2 separate regions of the Homo sapiens genome follow, and region 2 is linked to region 1. Evidence: promoter capture Hi-C in 16 types of primary human blood cells and fetal thymus (Javierre and others, 2016). All regions are on one chromosome and are shown on one strand. The core of a region is centred on a gene start or on the middle of the fragment in contact, and the rest is flanking DNA. Distances in the headings are between cores, read along the strand shown. Region 1 holds the start of LINC01148 (long intergenic non-protein coding RNA 1148). Region 2 holds the start of LINC01467 (long intergenic non-protein coding RNA 1467).

Region 1 (5,233 bases), core at 1,695-4,194:
GGGAGGGAAATTTTGGAATCATTCAGGAAGAGAAATAACAGGATTCTGTGCCTTACAATATATGAAAGTTATGCTGAAGCTTTCCTATTAAATTTTTTTCTGCATTGATTAGGGATTTAAGTCTCTGAGATCAAATAATTCTCTTAACTGAAGATTCAGTCATTTGAAAATTATGAAAATGACATAGAACATGGTTTGTATGGAAACACTGAATGAAAGAGCAGTGGAGTGGCTGCTCTTGTAACACAGAAAGAGACAAAACCATTGAAATACAGTTTCTTTGGTACAGATTAGGATGCATCAGGCAAATCCAGATATCATCCATCTGCTTTCTTTGAAAACAGTCAAAGGTGCTTCAAGACTTTCTTCTAGTCTTATTTTGATTGCTTATAGTCTTCTAAAAACCAATCTGCAAAAGAGAAAAGTCAGTGAGAACTCATTACTACACCTCTATTTTGTTACTGCTAGTATGAACATTGGTACTTTAGAAAATACTTTGATTAGGCCAGGCGCGGTGGCTCACGCCTGTAATCCCAGCACTTTGGGAGGCCGAAGCGGGAGGATCACGAGGTCAGAAATCGAGATCATTCTGCTAACACTGGGAAACACCGTCTCTACTAAAAATACAAAAAATTAGCTGGGCGTGGTGGCGAGCGCCTGTAGTCCCAGCTACTCGGGAGGCTGAGACAGGAGAATGACGTGAACGCGGGAGGTGGAGCTTGCAGTGAGCTGAGATTGTGCCATTGCACTCCAGCCTGGGCAACAGAGCGAGACTCTGTCTCAAAAAGAAAAAAAAAGAGAAAAGAAAAAAATACTTTTGATTTTACTTTGTATTAAATAAACTCCTGCTGCCCCCTAGTGGCAATTTATTGGGGAACAGAATCTCTGGGTCTATTGTCTGTTTTGCGGCAGAAACATGTATTGGCAACACCAATGTGGTACATAGAAGATTATCCCCCACATTAAGGCATTTTATAGACATCACAACAATGACCTTGTATTCATAATTGCATAACACAGTGGTTTGTCTGTTATCATTGCAATTAATGGAACTCAATCTGGGATTGTTCAAATGATGGCACCACAAGCCATTTGGCAATTGGAAGTCAGTCATTTCCTGATATGGCCTAGTAATTAGTTACTCGAATTACTTAAATTCTGAGTCTTTTTACACGCAACCAAGGCATCATCATCATGTGAACACCTGTGTTTACTCGACCTTGAGTAGACATAATAGCAAAAGAGTCTGTCCCCTATGAAGTTTAAAAATCCAGGCCGCGTGTTTCAATTCCTTATTTCCTGTCCCATCTTTGAACTCTTCCCAGGTTTATCGATTGTAGGAAATGCCATTCCCTTCAGGAGAAACCCAACTCCCAATCATACTGTTGGGGTATTCGCCTTTGGCCTAAAGGACACAATCACATCACAACACAATAATCCAAGTTTAGTGTTTGCTCAGTCTAGTTCCTTTTCATAGTCTCTTTAGGGTTGAAATAAAGAACAGCCTTCATCACTTTCCTAAGATTCTTCCATCACAGCTTCTCATTTACAAACAGCTGCTCAAAAACAGCTATATACAACTCCATTAGAAAAGTCTAAAATTTAAAAACAGAAGAAAAGTGTTTTAAATCAAACAAAGGTACTATTTTTCCCAAACAGGCATATAAAATTTGCACTTATTTTATATTGAAAGATACATGCAACTTCATTTACCCGGCAGAACAATAATTTGTATGGCAAACATATCTCTGTGTCTGGAATTGGTTGGTTCTTGGTCTGACTTCAAGAGTGAAGCCACCACCCTTGCGGTGAGTGTTACAGTTCTTAAAGACGGCGTGTCCAGAGTTTGTTCCTTCTGAAGTTCGGATGTGTTCGGAGTTTCTTCCTTCTGGTGGGTTCGTGGTCTCCCCGGCTCAGGAGTGAAGCTGCACACCTTCCCAGTGTGTGTTACAACTCTTAAGACGGCGCGTCTGGAGTTGTTCCTTTCTCCCGGTGGGTTTGTGGTCTCGGTGGCTTCAGGAGTGAAACTGCAGACCTTCGCAGTGAGTGTTCCAGCTCATAAAGGCAGTGTGGACCCAAAGAATGAGCAGCAGCAAGATTTACTGCAGAGTGAGAGAACAACGCTCCCACAATGCAGAAGGAGACCCCAACGGTTGCCACTGCTAGGTCAGGCAGCCTGCTTTTATTCTCTTATCTGGCCTCATCCACATCCTGCTGATTGGTCCATTTTACAGAGAGCCGATTGGTCTGTTTTACAGAGAGCTGATTGGTCCGTTTTGACAGGGTGCTGATTGGTGCATTTACAATCCCTGAGCTAGACACAAAAGTTCTCCACGTCCCCACTAGATTAGCTAGATACAGAGTGCTGACTGGTGTATTTACAAACCCTCAGCTAGACACAAAGTGCTGATTGGTGCATTTACAAACCTTGAGCTAGATACAGAGTGCCAATTGGTGTATTCACAATCCCTTAACTAGACATAAAGATTCTCAAGTCCCCACTTGACTCAGGAGCCCAGCTGGCTTCACCTGGTGGATCTCCCACTGGGGCCCCAGGTGGAGGTGCTTACCAGCCCCGCGCCGTGCGCCCGCACTCCTCAGCCCTTGGGCGGTTGATGGGACCAGGCGCCTTGGAGCAGGAGGCGGCGTTCGTCCGGGAGACTCAGGCCGCGCAGGAGCCCACGGCGTCGTCGGGGCGGGGAGACTCAGGCATGGCAGGCTACAGGTCCCAAGCCCTGCCCCGCGGGGGAGCAGCTAAGGCCCAGCGAGAAATCGAGCGCAGCGCCGGTGGGCCAGCATTGCTGGGGGAACCGGCGCACCCTCCACAGCTGCTGGCCAGGATGCTAAGCCCCTCACTACCAGGGGCCGGCAGGGCCGGCTGGCCGCTCCGAGTGCGCGGCCCGCCAAGCCCACGCCCACCCGGAACTCTAGCTGGCCCGCAAGCGCAGCACGCAGCCCCGGTTCCCGCCCGTGCCTCTCCCTCCACACCTCCCTGCAGGCTGAGGGAGCCGGCTCCGGTCTCGGCCATCCCAGGAAGGGGCTCCCACAGTGCAGCGGCGGGCTGAAGGGCTCCTCAAGCGTGGCCAGAGTGGGCGCCAAGGCCGAGGAGGCGCCAAGAGGGAGCGAGGGCTGTGAGGACTGACAGCACGCTGTCACCTCGTCTCTACTTAGGTGAATGATGCCTTTGGCCTGCTTATGTCTTCCATAGCCACAATGGTGAGTACTTGTTTTCTACTCAGCTAATAAGAAAATAAGTTTTGGCGGTTTTCTGAGAGCAAAAGTATTTATTGCTTGCCCAAGATAAATCGACCTCTAAAGAGACAGAAACTATTTTAAAACAGTTTTAAAAACAACATTTTTCCGTTTACACAGAAAGTTTTAGTGTCAATTTCACCCCCTCCCCAAATACTATACCCTTTATAAATTATGGGTGTTTGTTTTTGTTTTTGTTTTTTGTTGTTGGTGGTGGTTGGTTGGTTGGTTTGTTTTGTGCCTCTTACTCTTAAAGTATGGTCATTTAGGAAGTCTATGTAATTTTGTGTCCCCTGATTGCCCCCTCTTAGAAAATTGAAATTCTTCAAGGTGGAAGAAACAACATATCTATATTTGTAATCCAAGTATCTAGAGATAACCTGGCTTATAGTAGGTGATCAGTAAAAGTTTGTTGAATAGAACCAAAAAAAGAGGAATATAGATGATACTGATATTAAAAATAAAATAAAAATGACATCCACTGAGTGTTAGGATATCACCGAGGGAAACCCCAGAAGATTATTTAGTATTGATTGACAAAAATTAACATTTCTAAATGATGCTTTGAATTAAGGATTCTTGGTCTATTCATGACAAGTCTTCCAATGTGAATTTATATCTCAAAATATTACATAACCTGTAAAGCTGAATCCATGAATGTGAAGTCCAGCTAAATTTGAGACTGATTCTAAATACAGTGGTAGAGTATGCAGTTTGCTATTGTTGTCTTCTGTCTTTCATAACAAAATAATTTATTTTCTTCCTATATTGGTCAGGAATATCCTGTCAAGAAGGGAGGTTATCTAATTGTTGAAATATCAACATTTTAAAAGAAGACTCCAGAAAAGAGGGTAATGCTAAACATAAAGTCATGTTATGATAATGAAGGTACTTCAGGTGCATTATGGAGCACATGTTGAGAAGGGGTTTTTGGCAAATAATGTCCCTCAATTATAAGACGTGGGCATCACTTGATCACATCAAATGAGTCTATAGTTTAAGCCAGTCATAATTATTATACCTTGTAGCACATGCAAAGATTTATCTCAGCGCTTTTATAGTTTAACCCTATGTATATTAAAGGGCTAGAAACTCAATGTCATCTTTCCGAATAAACTTCCTCATGCGTCATATTTTTCATTGAAATCCTTTGTTTGTATTAATATTCTTAAAACCTATGATGTAGCTTTATAAATGAACAAAAATATTGAAGATTTATTTTTAATATTTTAAAAGATACAGATATGAAAAGTTCTTTTAAATCAGGAGATGAGAACTCTTGTGGTATATTCAAATCTCAGTTTTCATGGCAGTGATAATCAATGACATATCTCTATTTATCCCAACAATGAATATAAATAATAATAACAGAATCAATAACTAGTTTCCAGTGGTTTTAACAGAATCCATTTATTTCAAGCTTTAGCACTGATTTTTTTAAGTCCTAAAGGAAATTAATTGCGTTAGTTTTCATTTTAATTGATTTTTAAAGTTCTCTTTCATAAAGGAGCAGTTTGCTTCTCATTTTTCCATAAAGATTCCTCTAAATGGCATTTTTTCCTGCTGTTTTTTATATGGCTGTAGAGGTAATTTCTCCATATCACATTTAACTTGAACTGCCTCAGTCAAAAATGGGTTAAGCCCTAATTCCTACAGAAGAAAAGAACAGCATAAAGTACCACGGAGCACAAACATTTTAAGGCACAGCAAACTAGACAGAAACCTCACTGCTGAAACTGGCTAGATGCATGTGATTGGACAAGTTCCTTCACTTCTTCAATTTTCTTCTTAATGTGTTAAGTTATGTACAACATCTTCTTCCTAGAGCTGTTCTGAAGATTAAATAACACCTATGTAAGTACTTAATGCAAATAAATGCAGAAGAAAGATTAGTTTCCACTATTTCCTATCCAGTTATTTTTTGTGACAGCTACTGTGTCCAGGTCTTATGAAAATATTCTATTAAATGCCTCATTAAAAT
Region 2 (5,233 bases), core at 1,185-3,684, 5.3 Mb before region 1:
TGGCGAAGGCAGGAAGGGAATATTTCAGCCTGATGCTAACAATGACGCTATCTTACATTGGCTTGGCACTCTCTAGTTATCTAAAGTTGAGTTTGCATCGATGATCTCATTAGAACCTTCCATCAGTCCTAGCAGGAAGTCAGGGCTAATATTTTAGCCTTGTTTGGCTGCAGAGGAAATGAGGTTCAGAGAGAGTGTGATTGGTCGAAAGTCGAATTGTGGAACTGGGACTATGATCTTTCCAAAATAAGCCAGCCCTGCCCTCTTCTTCCTTCCTCTCTTGCTCCCTTTCTGCACTAAACCTCTACCACGTGCCATACAGTGTGCAGGCACCAGGAATTTCCATGAGCTTCCCTTGAACCTTGCATATAAAGCAAAGTTCCTCTGAAGGGACCTATAGTAAACTAAAGAGGAGTAAACACAAAATCAATTAAGGGCACCAAAGTGTTAGAGAGACTGTGTTACAAATATTTACAGAAAGTAGTGTGAGAAGACAAGGGGAGTATTAATCAATTGCATATGGGACTAAGGGAAGTGGGACAGTGATGCATTAGGAAAAGCTTCATGAGACAGTAAAGTTCCAGCAAAGTTTAAAGTAAGAACAGCCACCAGACAGACCTGGAATTAGCCTTTTTGCAAAGTGCATTTCCATGAGAAACTGTGCAGGGGATACATGGCCAAATAATAGCATGCACTATGGTATATCGGAAATTCCTAATTCTTTTTGGGGATTTGAGTACCCCAGGAAGCCCTTCAAAAAGAAATGTTTAACTTTTGTGATCTAGCCAACATGTGGGATTATAGAGCTTTAAATACAAAATTTTAGAGAAAAACTAAGATTTTAAGTAACGTAATGTATTATGTAACTCTGGAAAGGACTAGCTTACAGCTTACGTCCACTTGCAGGCAGATCTTAGCAGGCTGCTGAGATTTGCCTGTGGAAAGTGCAAAAGTGAAGTGCAGTGGAGACCAGGCCCACTCAGATGGGTAATAAACCTTAAACCAGATAAACTAGAACACTGACACTGTTGCTGTCTTACATATAAAACATTGAGCCAACCCAAGAAAGGGACTCACGGTCCAAACGTGTCCGGAATTGGGTTCTTGGTCTTACTGACTTCAAGAATAAAGCCGCGGACCCTTGCGTTGTTACAGTTCTTAAAGGCGGCATGTCCAGAGTTTGTTCCTTCTGATGTTGGGATGTGTTCCGAGTTTTTTCCTTCTGGTGGGTTCATGGTCTGGCTGGCTCAGGAGTGAAGCTGAAGACCTTGGCAGTGAGTGTTACAGCTCTTAAGGCTGCGTGTCTGGAGTTGTTCCTTCTTCCTGGTGGGTTCGTGGTCTTTGCTGGCTTCAGGAGTGAAGCTGCAGACCTTTGTGGTGAGTGTTACAGCTCATAAACACAGTGTAAACGCAGCGTGGACCCAAAGAGTGAGCAGCAGCAAGATTCATTGCAAAGAGCAAAAGAACTAAAGCTTCCACACTGGGGAAGGATACCCGAACAAGTTGCCACTGTTGGCTCACGCAGCCTGCTTTTATTATCTTATCTGGCCCCACCCACATCCTGCTGATTGGTCCATTTTACAGAGAGCCGATTGGTCTGTTTTACAGAGAGCTGATTGGTCCATTTTGACAGGGTGCCGATTGGTGTGTTCACAATCCCTGAGCTAGACACAAAAGTTATCCACATCCCCACTAGATTAGCTAGATACAGAGTGTCCATTGGTGTATTTACAAACCCTGAGCTAGGCACAGGGTGCTGATTGGTGCATTTACAAACCTTGAGCTAGATGCAGAGTGCCAATTGGTGCATTCACAACCCCTTAGCTAGACATAAAGATTCTCCAAGTCCCCACCAGATTAGCTAGACACAAAGCGCTCATTGTTGCATTTACAAACCTTGAGCTAGACACAGAGTGCCCATTGGTGCATTCACAATCCCTTAGCTAGACATAAAGATTCTCCAAGTCCCCACCAGATTAGCTAGATACAGAGTGCCCATTGGTGCATCCACAAACCCCAAACTAGACACAGGGTGCTGATTGGTGTTTACAAACCTTGAGCTAGACACAGAGTGCTGATTGGTGCACTCACAATCCCTTAGCTAGACACAAAGGTTTTCCAAGTCCCCACTAGACTCAGGAGCCCAGCTGGCCTCACCCAGTGGATCTTGCACAGTGCCACAGGTGGAGCTGCCCGCTAGTCTCCCGCCGTGCGCCCGCACTCCTCAGCCCTTAGGCGGTCGGCGGTGCTCCTCCGGGAGGCTCAGGCCGCGCAGGAGCCCACGGCGGGGCGGGGGAGACTCAGTTATGGCGGGCTGCAGGTCCCAAGCCCTGCCCAGCGGGGAGGCAGCTAAGGCCGGGCGAGAAATCGAGCGCAGCGCCGGTGGGCCAGCACTGCTGGGGGACCGGGCGCACCCTCCGCAGCTGCTGGCCTGGATGCTAAGCCCCTCACTGCCCGGGGCGGCAGGGCTGGCCGGCCGCTCCGAGTGCGGGGCCGCCAAGCCCACGCCCACCCGGAACTCTAGCTGGCCCGCAAGCGCCACGCGCAGCCCCGGTTCCCGCCCGTGCCTCTCCCTCCACACCTCCCCACAAGCCGAGGGAGCCAGCTCCGGCCTCGGCCAGCCCAGAGAAGGTCTCCCACGGTGCAGCGGCGGGCTGAAGGGCTCCTCAAGTGCGGCCAGAATGGGCGCCGAGGCCAAGGGGGCACCGAGAGCGAGCCAGGGCTGCGAGGGCCGCCATCACGCTGTCACCTCTCACAGGAGCGATATGGGAGAGGAGGAGGGGGAAAGCCAAAGGTAGGTCCTGATTTTTAGTTCTTCCATCTGGCAGCGTGGCTAACTTGGAGGAAATTCTGAAGTGGAACCCCAGCCCTAGAATGGTGAGGGAGAGGTTGCTGGGGAAAACGATGTGGAGGGCTTAATCAAGGGCAGAGGATACTCATTTTGGGATGTGAACATCCCTCTTCCTGCAGTAAGGCTCTCATCTCCTCTCTTTTGCAAGGTGACTCAATTAGACAACAGCCTGGTGGCTGTCCGTTCTGTCTCCAAGGAGAATACCAGGTGTGTTCCTTAATTTCAGTATTTGTTTATCTCCCCCTCCTCCTTTTTCAAAATCCATTCTGAGAGGTGTTTCTTCTCCATGATATCTCAGACTGAAGTCTTTTTGCCCTGATTTTATATTATTTTCTTCCAAGATCCCTTCATATTACACGGTTGTTCCACCAGGGTGGAAACTTTTCCATCCTCTGAACCTATAATGGTGTTTGGTACACAGTAGGGACTCAGATTTATTGAGTAAAAATTTGAATGCCAGCTTTTAAAAGAAACAGACTCTTAGGTGTCTCATTCTCGTTTGGTAAACACGCAGATAAAGGAGGAGGAGCAGCTAGAAAAGGGAACTAAGCTTTACCATGCTAAACCACGTGTTATTCACTTTTCCCAGAATGCCTCCTTTAGGGTTTATGGTACGTCCCATGAATGGGTATTATTATATCATCACACCATTTGGCAGATGAAGAAACAGAAGGCCAGAAAAGTTTCACTTGTCTTCAGTCACCCAGGCACTAAGCACAGAGCTGGGACGTGTACCTGGTATGTGAGGCTGAGCCACAGCTCCATCAGTTTAGGGTCACCAAGAGGATATTGATCTCAGTGTCAGGAGATTGAAATCTGCTGCAGATCTTATCACTAATTAGTGTTAGATTCTTGTTATGTAATATTTGAATATAGAGGTAATCATGGATTTCTACTAATTTCTTCTTCTTACTTGGCCTACATTAAGATTTCCTCTTAAATGTGACATTAGATCACATGGAGGGGTTCTTCTGAAGGCTGAGGATAACATAATGCAATTTTGTTTAATATCATTCCCATTCTGCACTGAATTTGTCTGAGTAAAATGCATGAATCTTAGATTTGAGAAATCGAGATCTAGGCTCTTTTGAGATACTTGTCATTCACTAGATGGCACTGTTGTATTAACTTTACTTATTTCCTAGCTCTGGTTTAAAACCTTCAAGAGTATATTTCCTGTGATACTGTAGTTGTCCAACTATCCAGACTTTCCAGGTGTTGGTACAAGGACAGTGTAGGGGACAAGCAGATATTGTGTATACATCTTTTTAGTATGGGTCCTAAGTCCTAGTTTAGATTTTAGGACTGTAGTAAAATGCAGTGGGCTCTCAGTATTTGCGGGTTCTGCATCCATGGATTCAACCAGCCAGGAATGGAAACTATTAAACGGTAGGGCACGATGGCTCATGCTTGTAATCCCAGCACTTTGAAAGGCTGAGGCAGGAGGATTGAGCTCAGGAGTTTGAGACCAGCCTAAGCAACATGGCAAAACGCTGTCTCTAGTAAAAATACAAAAATTAGCTGGGCATGGTGGTGGACACCTGTAATCCCAGCTTCTTGAGAGGCTGAGGCAGGAGAATCGCTTGAACCGGGTAGGCAGAGGTTGCAGTGAGCTGTTATTGCGCTGCTGCACTCCAGCTTGAGCAACAGAGCTCTGTCTCAAGAAAAAAAAGAAGAAAGAAAGAAAAAGAAAATATTAAACAACAACAACAGCAGCAAAAAACTAACAAAAATAATAATAAAACAAAAAATAATACAAGTGAAAAACAATACAGCCTGTTTACATAGCATTTACATTGCATTAGGTATTGTAAGTAATCTAGAAATGATTTAAAATATATAGCAGGAAATGTGTAGGTTATACGCAAATATGACACCATTTTATATCAGTGACTTGAGCATCCATGGATTTTTGTATTTTCTGGGGTCCTGAAACTAATCCCCCTCAGATACCAAGGAATGACTGCAGTAGTTTTTGGAGCAATACGTTAATAGCTGGATTCACTGACAGACTGAAAAATAATGTCTTGCTGGACATTACGAAGCAAAATAAAGTCTCACTGAGATATGGGAACTTTAGAGAAAAGGAATAAAAATATAGTTGCTTTAGCTCATAATCTATCTGGTCACTTCTGTAATCTCTGTTACAGACCCTCAAGACCATGTCACCGGGGCCAAGCATTTTCCTCTTTTAACTTATTTATGTGTTTGAGATCGTTAATGGAGGGTTTCTCAATCTTAGCACAATCAGTAATTTGGGTTAGGTAGTTCTAACCCAAACACAGGGATGGTCCTGTGTTTAGGATATTCAGCAGCATCCCTGGTCTCTACTCATTAGATGCCAGTGGCAGCCTCCTCTCCCTTCAAGTTGCAACAACCAAA

Evidence for each region. Contacts are between HindIII fragments. The CHiCAGO score rates a contact against its expected background, and 5 or more counts as called.
Region 2: a fragment that was not itself captured here is called in contact with the fragment with the promoter of LINC01148 in region 1 in 2 of 17 cell types (M2 macrophages and M1 macrophages); the score reaches 10.8 in M2 macrophages.

The regions. Positions count from the first base shown.
Region 1 is chr14:86,902,834-86,908,066 of GRCh38, forward strand. It overlaps LINC01148 (long intergenic non-protein coding RNA 1148), which reads left to right and starts at 2,945. Exons shown (of 5, transcript NR_038445.1): 1 at 2,945-3,216. The HindIII fragment of the contact is 4,593 bases long and covers 78-4,670 here.
Region 2 is chr14:81,621,576-81,626,808 of GRCh38, forward strand. It overlaps LINC01467 (long intergenic non-protein coding RNA 1467), which reads right to left and starts at 1,486. Exons shown (of 3, transcript NR_110074.1): 1 at 1,078-1,486. The HindIII fragment of the contact is 1,929 bases long and covers 1,471-3,399 here.